2 separate regions of the Homo sapiens genome follow, and region 1 is linked to region 2. Evidence: promoter capture Hi-C in human tissues and cell types (Jung and others, 2019). All regions are on one chromosome and are shown on one strand. Each heading gives the region's core, a stretch centred on a gene start or on the middle of the fragment in contact. The rest is flanking DNA. Distances are from core to core; before and after follow the strand shown.

Evidence for each region. The method cuts DNA at HindIII sites, captures the fragments that hold promoters and counts their contacts. A contact is called where the count stands out against the background at its distance.
Region 1: a contact is called between a fragment that was not itself captured here and the fragment with the promoter of OLFM2 in region 2, in 1 of the 25 tissues and cell types used here (mesenchymal stem cells).

What each region holds. Positions count from the first base shown.
Region 1 is chr19:10,141,055-10,146,181 of GRCh38, reverse strand. It overlaps DNMT1 (DNA methyltransferase 1), which reads left to right. Exons shown (of 41, transcript NM_001130823.3): 29 at 2,195-2,416; 30 at 3,962-4,154; 31 at 4,993-5,077. Among named protein-coding and RNA genes, the nearest start is that of EIF3G, 24 kb to the right of the region's middle. The HindIII fragment of the contact is 3,505 bases long and covers 548-4,052 here.
Region 2 is chr19:9,934,235-9,939,590 of GRCh38, reverse strand. OLFM2 (olfactomedin 2) reads left to right here and starts at 3,076. Exons shown (of 6, transcript NM_058164.4): 1 at 3,076-3,287. The coding sequence starts at 3,225. RefSeq lists enhancers at 2,057-2,559, 3,226-3,820. The HindIII fragment of the contact is 7,550 bases long and covers 1-5,356 here.

The DNA of each region.
Region 1 (5,127 bases), core at 1,051-3,550, 210 kb before region 2:
CATGATGCTATTGCAGAGCAAAGCTGAGCGTAAAAGTCAACTCGCTGGTTTGGCTGGGTGTGGTTTCTCACGCCTGTAATCCCAGCGCTTTGGGAGGCCGAGGCAGTGGGGAATCATCTGAGGTCAGGAGTCTGAGACCAGCCTGGCCAACATGGTGAAACCTCGTCTCTACTAAAAATACAAAAATTAGCCGGGTGTGGTGGTGCGCGCCTGTAGTCCCAGCTACTCGAGAGGCAGAGACAGGAGAATCACTTGAACCTGGGAGGCAGAGGTTGCAGTGAGCCAAGATCATGCCACTGCACTCCATCCTGGGCAACAGAGTGTGACTCCGTCTCAAAATAAAAAAAGAAAAAAAAAGAACTTACTGGATAAAGCGCGAGGGACAGCTGGGGGCCCACCCCCAAGTTCTGCCTCTGCCCAAGGACACCTCCTCTCCGTCCCCTACTGTGAAGTGGGAGAGTGGGATCTTGCCTGCTGGGGCTCGAAGGGTTGAGTGAGTTGAAAGTGCTCCATACAGTACCTGGCTTAAAGTAAAGGTTTAACGGACATGAGTTACTTCTTGGTTAGAGGGAATCACATCAGATGACTTCTCTGTGTCAGAGGATCGAGGCTCTTCCAGGAAAAACCTAAAGCCACAGATCGTTTCCACACTGATCCATTCTGTGTTTTTTCTAAGAATCAGCGTGTGGTTGGAATTACAGCCAACGTTTTCCAGATGCCTTCCCGGCTCACAATTCCATTTCCTTAGAGCCCCAGCTCCCTTGCCTTAGTTCAGTTACTGTGAATTATGAGAACTGGAGAAGCAGGTTCCCTCCAGCCTTGGCACAGTTGGGGCGCGTTACCCCCTCTGGTTGTCCTTGGTGGGAAGGGGACACCTCCCCGTAGTGTTTTCTGCCAGTTGCTCCTGGCAAAGTGGGAGAGTCAGCACAGAGACGCCTTTGGGGCCCGTCAGACTCCTGGGGGGCCTAGTGGGGAGAACGTGACAGCTGACTTCCCTAACGGCAGGCCTTCTTCAAAGAACAGCTTTTCCACACTAGTCAGACCACACTCCCATTGTCCCAGGCCCTGTGGCGCCTTACATTGGCCTCCAGTGTCGCTTCTAGATCAGAGCCTTAGTCAGGGTAGCGTAGGTTGTATCATAGCAACAACCCCAAATCACAGTGACTTAAAACCACAGAAGCTGGACTGGGTGCGGTGGCTCATGCCTGTCAGGAGTTCAAGACCAAGACCAGCCTGGCCGACATACCTGTCTCTACTAAAAATAAATTAGCCAGGGTTAGCTGGGTGTGGTGGTGGGCACCTGTAATCCCAGCTACTTGGGAGGCCGAGGCACGAGAATCGCTTGAACCTGGGAGGAGGAGTTGCAGTGAGCCGAGATTGTGCCACTGCACTCTAACCTGGGTGACAGAGTGAAACTCTCTCAACAAAAACCACGGTAGCCGCTGTCTCGCTCATACGAGGTGCCCATCACAGGTCAGCAGAGGACTCCACCTGTTGTGTCCCTTGGATATCTGGGCCGCTGGAGTCAGAAGTTGCCAGTGTTTGAGCCCAAGGGAAAGCACACAGGACATTCCCCAGGCAGTGACATCCTCTTTGGTCACTTCTGCCCACGTCACATGCCAGGAAACACAAGATGCCAAGTAGTCGGGAGGCAGGAGCCTGGGGTATTTGAGCAGTGTCAGCCACCACCGTAGCCAGTAATGCGCAGAGGGTGAATGCGTGCTTCAAACTGTGAGACTAAATCTGCAGCTAAATCTTTTTTTTTTTTTTCTGTGAGATGGAGTCTTGCTCTGTCACACAGGCTGGAGTGCAGTGGCACAATCTCAGCTCACTGCAACCTCTGCCTCCTGGGTTCAAGCAATTCTCCTGCCTCAGCCTCCCAAGTAGCTGGAATTATAGGCATGTACCACCACACCCGGCTAATTTTTGTATTTTTAGTAGAGACAGGGTTTTACCGTGTTGGCCAGGGTGGTCTCGAACTTCTGACCTTGTGGTCCACCTGCCTTGGTCTCCCAAAGTGCTGGGATTACAGGCGTGAGCCACAATGCCCAGCCTAAATCATTTCTTAGGGTACACACCTACCTTAATTCATCAGGTGCTTGACTTTAAATGGTTATTTTCACTGGTCAGTCATGCCTGACTGACCACTGCAAGGTGGAAGGTTCATTGATGTCAAGTGGGTGCTTCTCTGCAGCATCAAGCTGTCCAGTCCCGTGAAACGCCCACGGAAGGAGCCCGTGGATGAGGACCTGTACCCAGAGCACTACCGGAAATACTCCGACTACATCAAAGGCAGCAACCTGGATGCCCCTGAGCCCTACCGAATTGGCCGGATCAAAGAGATCTTCTGTCCCAAGAAGAGCAACGGCAGGCCCAATGAGACTGACATCAAAATCCGGGTCAACAAGTTCTACAGGTCAGCAGAGGCCTCTGTTCTTCCACGAGGCCACAGACTCTTCTAGAAGGCTCTGCCTGAAACAAGGTTGTGGCATAGCACCCACAGTTGTTCTAAGAGTTAGGTTGAAGTAGCTGTTTTTCCAAGTGTTTCTGATTATCGGTGGGCACTGATAATGACTAGAATTCTAGTTCCCAGCCCTCACTTTTAGGTCCTTATTTTAATGTTGCAGAGCCCTTTTTCCAAAAGAAATCCTTAAGCTGGCTGGGCACTGTAGCTCACGCCTCTAATCCTAGCACTTTGGGAGGCTGAGGCAGGAAGATCACTTGAGTCTAGGAGTTCAAGACCAGCTTGAGGAAACGTAGTGAGACCCCGGCCCTACCAAAAAAAAAAAAAAAAAAAGACTAGCTGGGCGTGGTGGCACACGCCTGTAATCCCAGCTACTTGGGAGGCTGAGGCTGAAGGGATCACTGAAACCCAGGAATTTGAGGCTGTAGTGAGCCATGATCCCACCACTGCACTCCGGCCTGGGTGACAGCCAGACCCCGTCTCAAAAGAAAAAACGGGTAGAGTGCCTGGGCACCCCCAGAGAACCTCCCAAGCTCCATCTATGACTGTCCAGGTTCTGTCCCGCTGTCCCCACCTCTTCCCAGGTCCTCCTTTCTGTCTCTGGGATTTTTTCTCTTTCCTAAGCTTTTGGCCTATTACGTTTTCTTTTTCTAAGACCCGAGTAACTTGCGGTGATTAGGCATTAACCTGAAACTAGCCTGTACAGGAAGCTATACACTTGCCTCACCTCTTAGCTAACATAGATCAAAGATTTCCTGAAGCCTTTGTAATAACAGGAAATAAAACAAGGGCTGTGAGTGGTACAGGTGAGAGAAACACACTCGAGAGGCTGCTACCGGCAGGCGGACACAGCAGGGCAGGGCCAGGCGTGCAGAGCAAGCAGCCAAGCTGACCTAATGGTTGGGGGGTCTCTACCCTGTGGTTCCCTAATTGGGGGCGAATCTACCTTGCAGTTCCCTCATTTGGGGAGGGGTTATCTTTACCTGCGGTTCCCTAAGTAGGGGGGTCTTTACCCTATGACTCCCTAACTGGGGAGGTCTTTACCCTGCGGTTCCATAACTGGGGGGTCTTTACCCTGCGGTTCCCAACTGGGTCGGGGGTCATTACCTGGCGGTTCCCTAATTGTGGGGGAATCTACCTTGCAGTTCCCTAATGTGAGGAGGGGATATCTTTACCCTGTGATTCCCTTACTGGGAGGGGTCTTTACCCTGCGATTCCCTAACTTGGGGGATCTTTACCCTGTGGTTCCCTAACTAGGGGGGGTCTTTACCCTGCAGTTCCCTAAATGGGGGGGAGTCTACCTTGCAGTTCCCCAGTGTGGGGAGGAGATATCTTTACCCTGCAGTTCCCTAACTGAGGGGGTCTTTACCCTGCGGTTCTCGAACTAGGGGGTCTTTACCCTGCAGTTCCCTGAGCACCCCAGGAACATGGTACTGTTTAATTCAGCATAAGCTCACCACAAAGGAGAGCTCCTAACGAGGCCTCTCCCGCTCGCAGGCCTGAGAACACCCACAAGTCCACTCCAGCGAGCTACCACGCAGACATCAACCTGCTCTACTGGAGCGACGAGGAGGCCGTGGTGGACTTCAAGGCTGTGCAGGGCCGCTGCACCGTGGAGTATGGGGAGGACCTGCCCGAGTGCGTCCAGGTGTACTCCATGGGCGGCCCCAACCGCTTCTACTTCCTCGAGGTGGTGCCCCTGCTTGCTAGAGGGAAGGCTTCGGGGTCAAAGTTGGCCAGAAGGAGTCTGATGTCGGGTTATACACAAGGCGGCTTGGCTGCAGGGTTTCAGCTTTTGTAAGAAGTGGGTGGTTGGCTGACGTGAAGCTGTTCTGCAGGAGCTTTACGGGGGTCTGAGCAGGGTTCTCCAGAGCACAAGTTGTATGAGATTCAAGTGGTCCCGGAGTTTAACACTCCTGGTTTTTAAAAAGTACGTCATTAGAGAACCTAACGTTTTAGTGTCTTGGTGCAACTGAACGTTGAGGACCATGAGGCAGCTTCCACCAGCCTGACTGGTGTCTTAGTATGAGTTGGAGAAGGTGCCCCTGCTCCTGGGTCCCTTGGGCCAGGCGCCTACGTCCAGGCCCAGCCCACATGCCTGTGCGGGTGGCCCTCGTTATGGAGAGGGCCCACGAGTCAGCTGATCAAGCTCATGACTTGTAAATTGTTGGGGCTTGGCCTTTCCGTGTTGTTACCTTAAAACGATACATCCACGTTCTCCCAGGCATGGATGAGGTAGCCCAATTGGACAGCAGATTCTGCATAGCACTTTTTCCTGTTCTAGAAGGTACTCTCAAGTGCTTGTAATAGGCATTTCAGTGTCAGCCAGATCAAATGTTAGTATTAATAAAATGGATTGTTTTAAGTTTCTATTGTAGCAAAGTCAAACTACTCTTATTGGTGGCTAATTGGTCATGGCCCCACTGAGGGAGAAATTAAGTGACTATCAAATTGCCTTCTTACTAGTCTGCGTTAGAGAGGGGACAGTGCGTTTCTCTCCCAAACGATTGCAGTTCTCTCCTTTTCAGGCCTATAATGCAAAGAGCAAAAGCTTTGAAGATCCTCCCAACCATGCCCGTAGCCCTGGAAACAAAGGGAAGGGCAAGGGAAAAGGTACGTCATTGTATGAGTTTCTTTTCAAGTTATTCTTCTGTAACTTGGAG
Region 2 (5,356 bases), core at 1,827-4,326:
GAAAGTGGGGAATAGATCTAAGTGCATATCGACCAAATTCCAACCATATAACACAGGCTGTAGCTTAGTTGTAACTGTGATCGTCTTAGTGACCAGAGCCCAAGGAGGACACTGTTCATGGTCCTGAAATGCAGCATTCATGAGTCAAGAGTGCTGACTCTTGACCGTGAGACCCACTCTTGGTCAAGAGCTTGTGGGTCCTACCAACCAATGTCCTCCTTTTATGCAATGCCAACTGCAGGCTTGGCCTGAAGGGCCCACAAAGGACTGTCTCCCATTTGGGAAAAGGAGATAGAAGAATAGGATGGGTGCGGTGGCTCATGCCTGTAATCCCAGCACTTTGGGAGGCTGAGGCAGGTGGATCACCTGAGGTCAAGAGTTCATGACCAGCCTGGCCAATATGGTGAAACCCCATCTCTACTAAAAATATGAAAAATTAGACAGGCCTGGTGGCAGGCACCTGCAATCCCAGCTACTTGGAAGGCCGAGGCGGGAGAATTCCTTGAACCCGGAAGGCAGAGGTTGTAAGCCGAGATCAAGCCACTGCACTCCAGCCTGGGTGTGACAGTGTGAGACTCCATCTCAAAAAAAAAAAAAAAAAAAAGAGATAGAAGAATAAACAGGATGTCTTCGCAGGCTCAGACTCTATTTTGTGTCCACATCCCATGATGAGTGTCCTCAACCCAGTGCATGGTTGGTTATTGCAAGGCGTGCTGGGGAGTGAGTGCTAGCTAGGTGCTCTCTTTGCTTAGAGTCACAGATGTCTCCCAATAACTGCAAAAAACAGGTCTTCTAAGAGGGGGAAAGCTTTTTCCCTAAGGTCACATGGCCAAGAAGTGGCAGCACCAGGGTTGAACCCAGATCTGTGGGTCACCAAGCTCTTTCTCATTGACCTGACAAAACCATCATCGACATGTTTTATCCCCAGTAGGGTTGAGACAGGAATGATCCAGGGTGGTCACAGGCAGCCGTTTCACATGACTAGAGGCTATGGGCTGATAAGATCCTGAAAACCAGGGTGTGGACCAAGCTGGCTAAGACCTACTGGACCCAACATGGCGTTACATTCTACCTAGGTTTCACCTAGGATCTCATTATGTACTCATTAAAATACTAAAATTACCCACCCACCAGCGCCCTTGACAATTCCAGGGACACCCAAATTTGGTGTAAAAGTGGGTGGCACCACAGTCCACCTTTTTCCAGTTTTCATGAATATTCCATCCCTTGGTTAAAGAGATACACAGTGGCCTGTTGTGGTGGCTCACGCCTGTAATCTCAGCACTTTGGGAGGCCAAGGCGGGTGGATCACGAGGTCAGGAGTTTGAGACCAGGCTGGCCAATATGGTGAAACCCTGTCTCTACTAAAAACACAAAAAATTAGCCGGCTGTGATGGCGCACACCTGTAATCCCAGCTACTCAGGAGGCTGAGGCAGGAGAATTGCTTGAACCTGGGAGGCAGAGGTTGCAGTGAGCCGAGATCACACCACTGCACTCCAGCCTGGGTGACAGAGCGAGACTTTGTCTCAAAAAAAAAAAAAAAAAAAAAAAAAAAGAGACACATAAAGGTAGCAGTCCCAAACCACCTTGCCCATCTCTCTCTCTTAAGTACGCCCACTCCCTTTTCTCAAGTGTGGACTTTTCCCTTAACAAAAAAATCTCCGAACTTTTCATGATTTTCTGATTCCTCCTTGAATTCATTCTTGCGATGGTGTTAAGAGCCTGGACACCAGCTGGGGTCGAGGCCCCACCAGCGTCTGGGGAGACCCCTCCTAGCCCAACAGTATCAGGGTCACAAAAATGCCAGGCTTCCTGGCCTCGCATATTTTATGCCCGATTTCTTTCCAATCTGACTTATTTGCCCGCCCCCCTCCTCCACCTCTGCCTACATATATCCGAATCCCTAGAGGGGCTGTGGGGAGGAAAGACGACTAGGGACACTTTTTTTTTTTTTTTTTTTTTGAGACAAGGTTTGCTCCTGTTGCCCAGGCTGGAGTGCAATGGCACGATCTCTGCTCACTGCAACCTCTGCCTCCCGGGTTCAAGCGATTCTCCTGTCTCAGCCTCCCGAGTAGCTGGGATTCCAGGCATGCACCACCACGCCCGGCTAATTTTTGTATGTTTTAGTAGAGGTGGGGTTTTGCCATGTTGGCCAGGCTGGTCTTGAACTCCTGACCTCAGATGATCCACCCTCCTCAGCCTCCCAAATTGCTGGAATTACAGGCGTGAGCCACCGCGCCCGGCCTAGGGAGACTTTTGGAGGAGTGAGAGGCAGAGAAAGGCTGGAAAGCCTCCCGAAAGTGAGGCTAGACAAGGACGCCCTTCATATGCAAATGGCTTCGCGTGGAGGCGGTGTTAATATTTTGATTCTCTCGGGGGATGTGGTCTTTCATCTTGGGCTATTGAAACAGGGAGCGAAGAGAAACTCTTCCAGGTGTGGCGGAGGCGGGGAGGCTTCCAGCGGGAGGACTGGTGGGGAAATGGGGCGCCCGGGGAGAGTGAAAACGAGACGCCCCTTTTTGAGGCCAAGCCCACCCACGTGGCCATTTCCATTGGCCTCTTGCCTGATTCTCGGTCTCCTGTCCCCCCAACCTCAATTTTTTCCTCTTATTCCCCGTCTCCATCTATGCCTCACCCCTCTTGTCCTGGCATTGACCCCTCCTCCAACTTCCAATTTCAGATTCTGCCTCAGTTTCCCTGTTGACTCTTGAGTTTTTAGGGAGGGGGCGTTCATCATTTCCCCTCTCTGCTACCAGGCCTTCCTCCTATTCCTCTCCCCCAACCATTCGTCCCCGTCCCACCTGCAACGTGGGAAATGCCCCCGGAGGGTGAAATTTACAAACACGTGACGGGCACCCCTCCCCCACCTCCGCGACCCGCTCCCGGAATGGCCTGGGGGTTGGGGGGCGCTGCCAAGTCCTGTCCTCAGGTCCCCTCGCCGGCGCTGGCTCCCCCACTTCCCCGCCCCCACCCCCCCACCCGACCCTGCTCGAGCTGCTCCCGAAGAGGAGCTGGGGGCGGGGCGGGGGGCGGAGCCCGCAACAAAGACTCGGAGCGAGCGAGGGGGCGGGGGTGGGGCGGAATCCCGGCCGCCGGCGAGGCGGGGGAGGCGGCGGCGCAGGGTCGCCCCGGCCGGGCGGGCGGGGTCGCGCCTGGTGGCGGTCCCCGCGCCGAGGCGCCGCTAGGGCGGGCGGGGGTCGGGACGCCGGGCTAGGGGCGCGTCATGTGGCCGCTCACGGTCCCGCCGCCGCTGCTGCTGCTGCTGTGCTCAGGCCTGGCCGGACAGGTAGGGGCCCGGCGGGCAGGTGCGGGCGCGGGTGGCTCCGGGAGAGGAGGGGGGCGCGGAGGGTTCCCGGAGAAACGGGGTTGGGAGGCTCCACAAGCCCCCCCAGCTGCAGGGCGGCGAGGGGCGGGGGTCGCAGCGGGGGAGGGGCCGGGACGTGCACTCTCTGGCTTGGGAGAGGACGAGGGGGGCTTCAAATCCAGCCTCAAGCTGGGCTGGTTTGGGGGGTGGCGTCTTTGGGGTTCTCAACCCCTCCATGGCCCCGAGCCCCCACCCCGCCATCTCGCTGGAGCTGAATGGGGTTGGGAGGGAAACTTCAGGGGGCATTGGAGGGGGGCGGTTGCTTACCCTTGACTTCCTCTTCGGGGCCGAGATGCCCAGTTTCTGAAGCCCTCCACTCCTCGCCTGCAGCCCCCAGTGTGGGGCAGGGGACGGGACTCACGTGAGAGTGACTGACGGGGACGCGTGTGAAATGCTGTGGGGGTGCAGGGTAAACGTGTGTGTCTTTGTGTCGTGGTTGGGTGTGACCGGGGGGAGTTTGTGTGTGTGGCGGTTGGGGGGCTTGTCCAACTAGTGCCCGAGTTGGGGTGTGATCAGTACGTGAGACAGAGTCTGTGTGTGACCGTGTCCTCATTACTGGCTCCAGATGACTGGGTGTTGTACAATACGTGTGTGGCCAGGTGTGTGGCCGTGTGAGAGCCTTGGAGTGAGCGTGTGCTATTCTGTACCTTTGGGTAAATCACTCTAAAAGGGTGTGTGTGTGTGCAAGCGCTGTGTGTGCAAACGTGTCCATCCATGCACGTGTGTGTGTGTATCTTGGTGCCTTGCTCACAACCGCACACGCCATTCATACCCTTACAGAAGCGGGTCTCCCTCCCCATGGCACCTTTCTCTTGGGCAGGCTCAGGGAGGCTTGCAAAATGTGGGGCGTCCACGCTCTCTTTTGCTATTGGAAAGCCCCTCTCCTCCTCCATCTTGGGAGTGAGAGCACCCCCAAGTTCTCAGATCTGTAGGAGTTCACAGGGAAGCTGGGATCAAAAATAATAAAATAGTCATTATGATAACAGTGATCATTCATTACGTGCTAATTTGAGAGGTGCTGTTTCAATCACACAGCACAGACTAAGGCATTTAACCCCCTCTGCCTCCTCCCTACTAGAGCATGGTATTGTTACCTCATTTTATGGATGGGGAAACTGAGGCGCAGAAAAGTTAAATCACTTGCTCAAGCTCGAGAGTGACAGAGGTGGGACTGAACCGAGGCAGTCCGGCTCCTGAGCCCACACGATTACCCTCTTGTTAAATAATCCGCTCCATGGGTGTGGACAGCGTCCGTGAAGACATTGCTAGGTGGGCTTTTAGGTAGATAGGCAGGGGAGAAACAATTTGGGCACCTTCCCCTTATCAAGAAAAGAATCAGACCCTTGTGCTCACCCCGAGGGGGGTGTTGGGAGGAATGGAGGTTAGACTCCAGATAGAAGGATTTCCAGGCCACGAGGAGAGATTGTGGGGTCCCCTCCCTCGCTCCTCCATTTCCCCACGCATCTCAGCACCCACGCGCTGGGTGGGATAGGGAGTGTGCCCAGCCCCAGGCATGAGGACACACACAATAGGTACTCAATGGATGTGTGAGCCTGAGAGAAGCCAAGAGACACACCTGGGAGACGAGAGACCAAAAGAGGCACACACTTGAGAAACCAGTGGAAAAAAAATGAGCCAGGAATCAAGTTGAATTATCCTTGACCTAGCAGAGGAGACAGAGAACCACCCCCTGTGGCTTCTCCTCCACTCCCTGCTAGGGGGGCACTAGATTTTCTGGCTTCTCACCAAGATTGGCTAGGATGCCAGAGTTTGCTGCCAGAATTGCAATTGGAGGGTGACTCCTACAGCCCCCAGGGCTGGGAGGGAGTTGCTTTGGGGGCGGGACTAACGAGGTCAGTGGAGGCGGGGCTAAAGGACAACGGGGGCGTGGCCAAATGAGGTAATCCGTTAGGGCGGGGCTGGTGGAATCCTGCCGCGGGCTGCAGTGCCTCCAGGCGGCCACCGCGGGAACTACATGGTTGTGAAACAGT